2 separate regions of the Homo sapiens genome follow, and region 2 is linked to region 1. Evidence: promoter capture Hi-C in 16 types of primary human blood cells and fetal thymus (Javierre and others, 2016). All regions are on one chromosome and are shown on one strand. Each heading gives the region's core, a stretch centred on a gene start or on the middle of the fragment in contact. The rest is flanking DNA. Distances are from core to core; before and after follow the strand shown.

Evidence for each region. The method cuts DNA at HindIII sites, captures the fragments that hold promoters and counts their contacts. A CHiCAGO score of 5 or more calls a contact.
Region 2: a contact is called between a fragment that was not itself captured here and the fragment with the promoter of ESF1 in region 1, in 1 of 17 cell types (total CD4 T cells). The highest score is 8.2, in total CD4 T cells.

The regions. Positions count from the first base shown.
Region 1 is chr20:13,782,529-13,786,198 of GRCh38, forward strand. It overlaps ESF1 (ESF1 nucleolar pre-rRNA processing protein), which reads right to left and starts at 2,391. Exons shown (of 14, transcript NM_001276380.2): 1 at 2,352-2,391; 2 at 1-655. The coding sequence starts at 612. It overlaps NDUFAF5 (NADH:ubiquinone oxidoreductase complex assembly factor 5), which reads left to right and starts at 2,500. Exons shown (of 11, transcript NM_024120.5): 1 at 2,500-2,762. The coding sequence starts at 2,541. RefSeq lists enhancers at 2,436-2,725, 2,721-3,410. The HindIII fragment of the contact is 9,427 bases long and covers 1-3,670 here.
Region 2 is chr20:20,043,755-20,047,424 of GRCh38, forward strand. It overlaps CRNKL1 (crooked neck pre-mRNA splicing factor 1), which reads right to left. Exons shown (of 14, transcript NM_001278628.2): 6 at 1,554-1,732. Among named protein-coding and RNA genes, the nearest start is that of CRNKL1, 6.9 kb to the right of the region's middle. The HindIII fragment of the contact is 1,375 bases long and covers 1,223-2,597 here.

The DNA.
Region 1 (3,670 bases), core at 1,141-3,640:
AGAACACTCGATTCTGGGAGATTTCACAATTTCAGAGGTGCCTGAGTCTAATGTCCTTTGTTTTTCTTCGAGAGAAGAGTCTGTAGTATGTTGAACAATGTTTTTTTTCTCTTTCTTATTTTTTTGTGTAAATTCTTTGCTATCCTTCTTCGGACTTATGTTTGAATCTATCTTAAATTTACATGAGGTTTTCATTTTTTTAATTCCTATAGAATTATCTAAATCAGTTTTATTTTCAGAACCCTTGTGATTAGCCTTCTTGGTTTCTTTCTTTTTCTCAACTAGATTTTTTGAATCGATTTCTTTTTTAGTCTGGGTTTTTTTCTTCTTTATTTTCTTTTGACTCAATGCTTTGCTATCTTCACCAGAGAGATTGGAATCAGAATCTGAAAGGTCGTAAAAACGCTTCAAATCCTCTGTAGTGCTATGGCTAATGGGGCGCCCTCTTTTATCCACGGCATAGTTCAACTTGAACTTCTTGTCATGAAACATGGCTCGAAATCTCTTGTCAATTTTGACTTTTCGATCCTTTTCTGGCATTTCCCAAAATCTCGGGTCCTTTGCAACCCGTCTAAACCGCTGGTCACTCATTATTTCTTGTTTGGATGACATTTTTAATTCTTAATCTCGACCAAATGCTTGAAGAAAACAAATACTGAAAAATAAAACAAATGTTTTAATGGTAATAATGGTTAGTACAATAATTAAATGTTTTAAAACACATTCACAATATATTCTAAGTTAATATATTCTAAGTTAAGTGTACATAAAATAGAGGTAACAAGTCTAATTTCATCTCTCCAACGTATTCTGGGTCACATGCAAAAAAGCAGAAACATACCAAAATATCCTCTTTCCATGACAGATCATTTAGAGAAATAAACTTAAGGTAGACAAAGCAGAATCCCAGGGCTTTATGGAGGGGAACAAATGTTTATTCATCCATTGCTCTCACTTAGAATTTCTATTTGTATACCAGTATGTGTTACTAATTGAAGGCAAATGTAGTTAAGATTCCCTAGGCCGAGTGCGGTGGCTCACCAGCACTTTCGGAGGCCAAGGCGGGCGGATCACTTGAGCCCAGGAGTTCAGGACCAGCCTGGGTAACATGGTGAATCCCCACAAGAAATACAAAAATGAGCCCGGCATGGTGGCGCGCGCCTGTAGTCCCAGCTACTTTGGAGGCTAAGGCAAGAGGATCACTTCCACCCGGGAGGTCTTGGCTAGAGTGAGCCTAACGGCACTACAGCACACCAGCTGGGGCAACAGAGTGAGACCCTGTCTACCAAAAAAAAGTAAGAAAGAAAGATTCCCTAGCCTCCGTTGGCCTCATTTGTTTCTTCACATTCTGGTCTCATTCTGCTTACTCCTTATCTCCGGCTACTGCCAACAAACAGCCTTTAGTTCTGTAAGACTAGCATTCTAACTAAACAGACCAAAATCAACTCAGGTTTAGCTAAGAAAGTTTCCTTTTTAAATTCGATCATCCTTCAAAAGTAATAAAAAGTTTAAAAATAAAAAGTAAATTTGAGTCTCCAGGTAAAGTCTCACACCAGTTAATAAATATCACTTCTTTCTATAATATCTGATTCTACCAGTGATGAAGGCCCAAGTGAGCTCATTCCCCCAAAACATACTAGAACATATACATATGTGTGTATAAATTAATATTGTTCCCTTGTGAAAAGTCTCCAATGGTTTAGCATCTCTGGATGGGAATTTTGCAAAGAGCCAAAAGTCGTTGATTATTAAGCAACCCCCCCCCAAAATGATTAAAAGGGCAATATTTCTTATTTAAAAATCAAGTCCTTTTAATTACACTAACTAGGAAAAAAAAGGAAGCTATCGCTGGTGCATTTACACATTTTTCGATGTATTACAGCACTTAACTCTCTGAGCAATCTTACGAGGTAGGTACCACCTCAACCAGGAGAAGTACTGCATGTATTGTAAATGTTTAGAAGGAAAGCACTCATTATATGTCAGATAATCCGAGAGAGGGGAAGGCGACCGGACCTCACTCCCGACACGCGCCCGCATCCCCGTAGCCCACCCTCCCCTTCTGCCCGCTCTCTAATTCGGAGAACACAGGGCTGGCCCCTGAACTAGGGTCTCCTTTCCACCTCCTGTACCGCAGGGGGGCAGCTAACAGACTGATTCGAGAAGCGACCCTGAAAAGGATCGATGAAGACTGAAGAATGAGACCGAAAAAGGCTCAGGAGGAAGGGGCAAAACCCCTCGCAGATCCGAAAGAGATCCTGTTAGAGACTAGTTTTTTCCCCGCGCCACACACACACACGCCCTCAAGCCCTTCATCTCGAGCTCTTCAACTCCAGTCCATCCCCACTCACCGTCCGCAGTCCTACCAAGCCTCACGTGGGGCTCACACCCACAATCCTCCGCGTGACGCTCCGCCGTAATGGCAAGCGAACTAGGCCAAACTACTTGCACGTTCCCTCGAGAAGATCTTTGGAGTAGACACAAAAGCCGCGCTGGCGCATGCGCACAAAAAGCGCCGGCAATTGGGGTCGCAGCTGGAGATGCTGCGGCCGGCAGGGCTCTGGCGCTTATGTCGGCGACCTTGGGCGGCGAGGGTCCCAGCGGAGAATCTTGGCCGTAGGGAAGTCACCTCTGGTGTCTCTCCCCGCGGTAGCACCTCGCCCAGAACCCTGAATATTTTCGACCGGGATTTGAAAAGGAAACAGAAGAACTGGGCAGCCCGGCAGCCCGAGCCGACCAAATTTGACTACCTGAAGGAGGAGGTGAGCCCGCGGGGCGGCGGGGCGGCGGGGCGGGCGACGCGGAGGCTTGTTTTCCTCTCCGCTAGTTCCGGCTAGGCCCCGAGCTCACCCCACCTAGCCGTCTGACCTTGACCAGCAGCCCTGCCTCTTTCGGCCTCTACTGTAATCACGCAAGGCCTGGCCTCGGATATTTGTAACATGCTTTCATTCATTCATGCATTCATTTCGGCAACGTCCTTGAGGCTGAAAGGACCTTATAGAGGCCTCCAGTGAAGCTCCGGAGAGGGAGAGAGTGGGAGAGAAGGTTAGGAGGACCCAAATCATCAGGGCCTTGCAGGATAGGGACTTGGGGTTTTCTTCTGTATCTGCACTGTCCAGCCAGTATGGTAACTGCCGGCCACACATGTGGCTGTTGAACACTTGAAAGGTGACTAGTCCAATTGAGATGTGTTGTAAAATACACACGAGTATAGTGACTTAGTATGAAAAAAGGATGTAAAATAGCTCATTAAGAGCTTTTATATTGATTACATGTTGCAGTGATTATTTTTGATATATTGGGTCACATGAAATATATTAAATATAAATTTAAATTTTTCAATTAAAATTTCTCTCGTTTTTACTTTTTTTCTTATGTGGCTACTAGAAAATTTGAAATTACATATGTGGCTCTCATGATTTTTGGTCAGCACTGCTCTAGGGGAATGTGAAGCTCTTGTTTTAATCAGTGGAGTGATCTGACTTATGTTTTAGGAAGATCAAATTAAGATTTCTGATTTGTCTTGGCTCGTTTGAGAAACCTTTCTCCCTGCCCAGGTGAGCCAGAGACTGAGGGTTTCTACTTTCAGGACACGCATTCTCAAGTTCAGGCCTCAGTAAATTTTTATTCAGGAGTGGAACAAAGTTGGAGTCAAGTATAATGCAACAAA
Region 2 (3,670 bases), core at 660-3,159, 6.3 Mb after region 1:
GTTAGATTTTGAGGCCTCATAATATCCAGAGTAAGATGCTTTTCTCCCTCTTGTTGAAGGTTATCTCTGTCAGGATGGACCGGTACTCTGCTTTGAGCTCCATATTTAATACTGTCTACCTAACACTGCCAACTGGATGTCTACTGCACATCTCAAACAGGTCCAAAACTGAGCTTCTGTTTCCTCCCCACTCAAACTGGGACTCTCCCCATCTTCCCAATTTTAGTAGGCAAGGCCTAACCTACAGTCACTTGCTCAAGCCAAAACCTTCAGGTGATCCTCAATTCCTCTTTTTTCCTCATACTCCATATTCACTCTTGCAACATGCCCTACCATTTCAATCTCTTCCACACAGCCATTTGCTTCTCCCCAGCCCCCAGCCATCAAACTCCACTGTTCACCTGGCCCACTTCAAAAGTCTCCCCACTGGTCTCCCCTGGTTCCACTTTTGCCATCTACCCTCATACATTCTCCATGAATTAGCCAGAGGCTCTCCTTAAAATATAAATCATATCCAATCACTGTCCCGCTTAAAACCTTTCAATGCTTCCCACTGGCCCGAACAGAATCTGAACTCCCTAGCATGGTCCGTGCAAGACCTTATATAGGTTGAGTATCTCTTGTCTGAAGCATTTGGTATCAGAAGTGTTTTGGATTTGGGATGTTTCCCCAGTTTGGGAATATTTGCATTATACTTACTGGTTCAGCATCCCTAATCCAAAAACCCGAAGTCTGAAATGTTCCAATGAACATTTCCTTCGAGTGTCATGTCAGCACTCAACAAGTTTCACATTTTGAGTTTTGGATTTTCAGACTGGGAATGCTCAAACCTGTATTTGGATGGATCTCAATTCTGTATTATTTGAACTCCCTTTTTTTTTAAGAAATGGGGTCCTGCTCTGTCACCCAGGCTAGAGTGCAATGGCACGAACATAGCTCATTGTAGTCTCAAACTCCTAGGCTCAAGTGATACTCCTGCCTCAGCTTCCCAAGTAGCTGGGACTGTAGGTGTGCACCACTATGCCCACTCAATTTTTTTTTTTAGAGACAGGGTCTCACTATGTTGCCCAGGCTGGTCTCAAACTCCTGGCCTCAAGTGATCCTTCTGCCTCATCTTCTCAATATTTGAGCTATTTTCATAGGTACAAGGGAAAAAAAGAACTCTCTTATTTGTAGGGCAATCTCTGTTTCCATTCTAAATGTTTTCTGTTCTAGGGCTTTAAGCTTTTTGTTTCCCATATTTATTATCGGTTAAGTCCTTTACTTAGGATGCCAAAAGACTAGTTCTCAGTTTACGGGCATTCAGACTAAAAGGCTTAATTTTCAAACAAAGCACAATAAAATTAAGACAGTTATAATACAATCTATAATCAGCTCCCATCTGTAGCTTAGTCACATATATATGCTGTTCTCTGTGAGAAGCTGTGTTTTTGTATTTTGAAAACATCTTTCCAGGGATATGTCAGTAAGAAAAAATGGAAATGAACTCACCATGCACAAAATGTAATCTTTGCTAAGCTGTTTTACAGTATAATGAAGTTAGGTATACTTACCTCTTTCTGATTTTCTTCAAACTTGGCAAAGGCAACATAAAGGTGCTCATCCATATGTTCATCTCCAAAGAATTCCACAGCTCTCTCATACACTTTCCGTGCATGGGCAAAATAAGCATGTTTTTCTTCAAAGCGGGCATACTTGATCCAGTTCTTAACATCAGGGTGCACGAGGACAAGTGCAAGGGAATTAAGGAAATCCCAGGCAAAACAGCATGGCTTAAAAAAATAGTAAGTAAGTAAACACCAAAACCATACCAAAGCCTGGAAACTCCAAAAATTCAAACTACAACTCTAGGGGAACAAAACACATACAAAAGTGTAGAATTAAACAGTGGCTTCTGTGAGAGCAGGGCCACGCCTGTTCATCTCTATTTTCCTCCAGTGCTTAGTTAAGATTTTAGTGGTGGGTATAAACTCGAGTTGGAAGCAAAGAAAAATCTCAACCCAGGTTACCAACCATGTGATCTTGGATAAGTCACTGAACTTAGACGTCTAAGTCTCAGCTGTTTCATTTGTAAACAGGGAAAAATAATGCCAGCCTCACTGGATTACTGCCAGCTTTAAATGAGAAAATGTATGTAAAGCCCTTAGCACAGTTTCTAGCCAAAAGAACATGGCACCGTAAGCGGTCAATAATGGTCTGGTCATTAAATAGCACCAATTATATTAAAATATGAATACTTGAACTAATAATTAAGAAAAAAACATGCTATAAAAAGAAAACTGTTAACTAGAGTCAAAGCAGAAAGTTTTGAATTGTCATTTTAATCTATCTTCCTTGAATAAATCATTAATTTCCAAAGTAGTAATATATTCCAATATGGCAAAGAAGAGCATCAGTTCTGAAGCTGCTCTACTAGGTTCACATTCTATTTCCATCAGCACCTGTGAGAACCCAGTCAAGCTACTTAATCTCTCATGCCTCAGCTCCCTCATCTGTAGGACAGAGAAGTTCCTACACTGCAAGGATGTTATGAGGATTAAACAACAATATCTGTAAAGTACTTAGAATACTGCCTGGCACGTAGCAAGTGCTATAAAAGCTTTCGTCAAACTAATAATATTAAAATTAGTAGACATAATTAAGATCTTAACATTGTCACCTCAACAGAGAAGAGTAAAAAAATAAAAAGATCTTAATACTGCATAATAAAGTTGACTCTCATTATTTCTGGTAGTTATGTTCTATTTAGTCAATGCGAACACTTAATTATTGAGTACTGAACCACTGCTCCTAGGAGAAACGTGTATATATACAATCTCACATTCATCATCATCTTAAATCCTAAAAAGAACTCATCCTGGCAGATTCTATCTTCATTATTTTGTAAGAAAAGTGGTTCAGAAATGTTAAGTGACTGGACTGAGGCTGCCCCACTGACAGGGATTCAAACTCCCCGACTGGCCCCAGAGCCACAGCTCCTTGCACTACATGGCACTGGCCCTTCCTGTCTCCAAGCTCTAGGCATGGTTATATGAGGTTAAGACCAGAAGGCAAGCCTCACCTTGTTGGACTTCATGCTCTGTGCATGTCCACAAATGACTGTGAAAGTGCCACAATTACTGATTTTGGGGGTTACAAATAAATTTTAGCAAATACGTGATTTTGCAAACATGGAATCTGCAAATAGTGAGGAATGACTGTACTTCAGTTTCTAAAAGTGCTTTCATGTGTATCATTTAATCTTCGCAACAGCCCAACAAAGGTGTTTTTATTCTTGTTTTTAAGAAGAGGACACCAACTCTCAAAGGAGTTAAATGACTCTCTGGAGCCACACAGCTAGTAAACAGTAAACCTTGGATGAACTCCAGTAAGGTAGTAATGACCAACACAAACCTTAGAAAAACAGGACTGGCAATGGCAGCCAGGACCTTAGTACAGTTAGTCCTCCAGCCATGGGTTCCATATCTGTGGATTCAACCAACCTGAGATAAAGTATTCGTGAGAAAAAAGTGCTTCTGTATTGAACATGTCGTTTTTTTGCTTATTATTCCTTAAAATATACAGAATAACAATTATTTATATAACATTTACATTGCATTAGGTATAAGTAATCTAGAGATTATTTGAATTATATGGGAGGCTATGCATAGGTTACATGCAAATACTACAT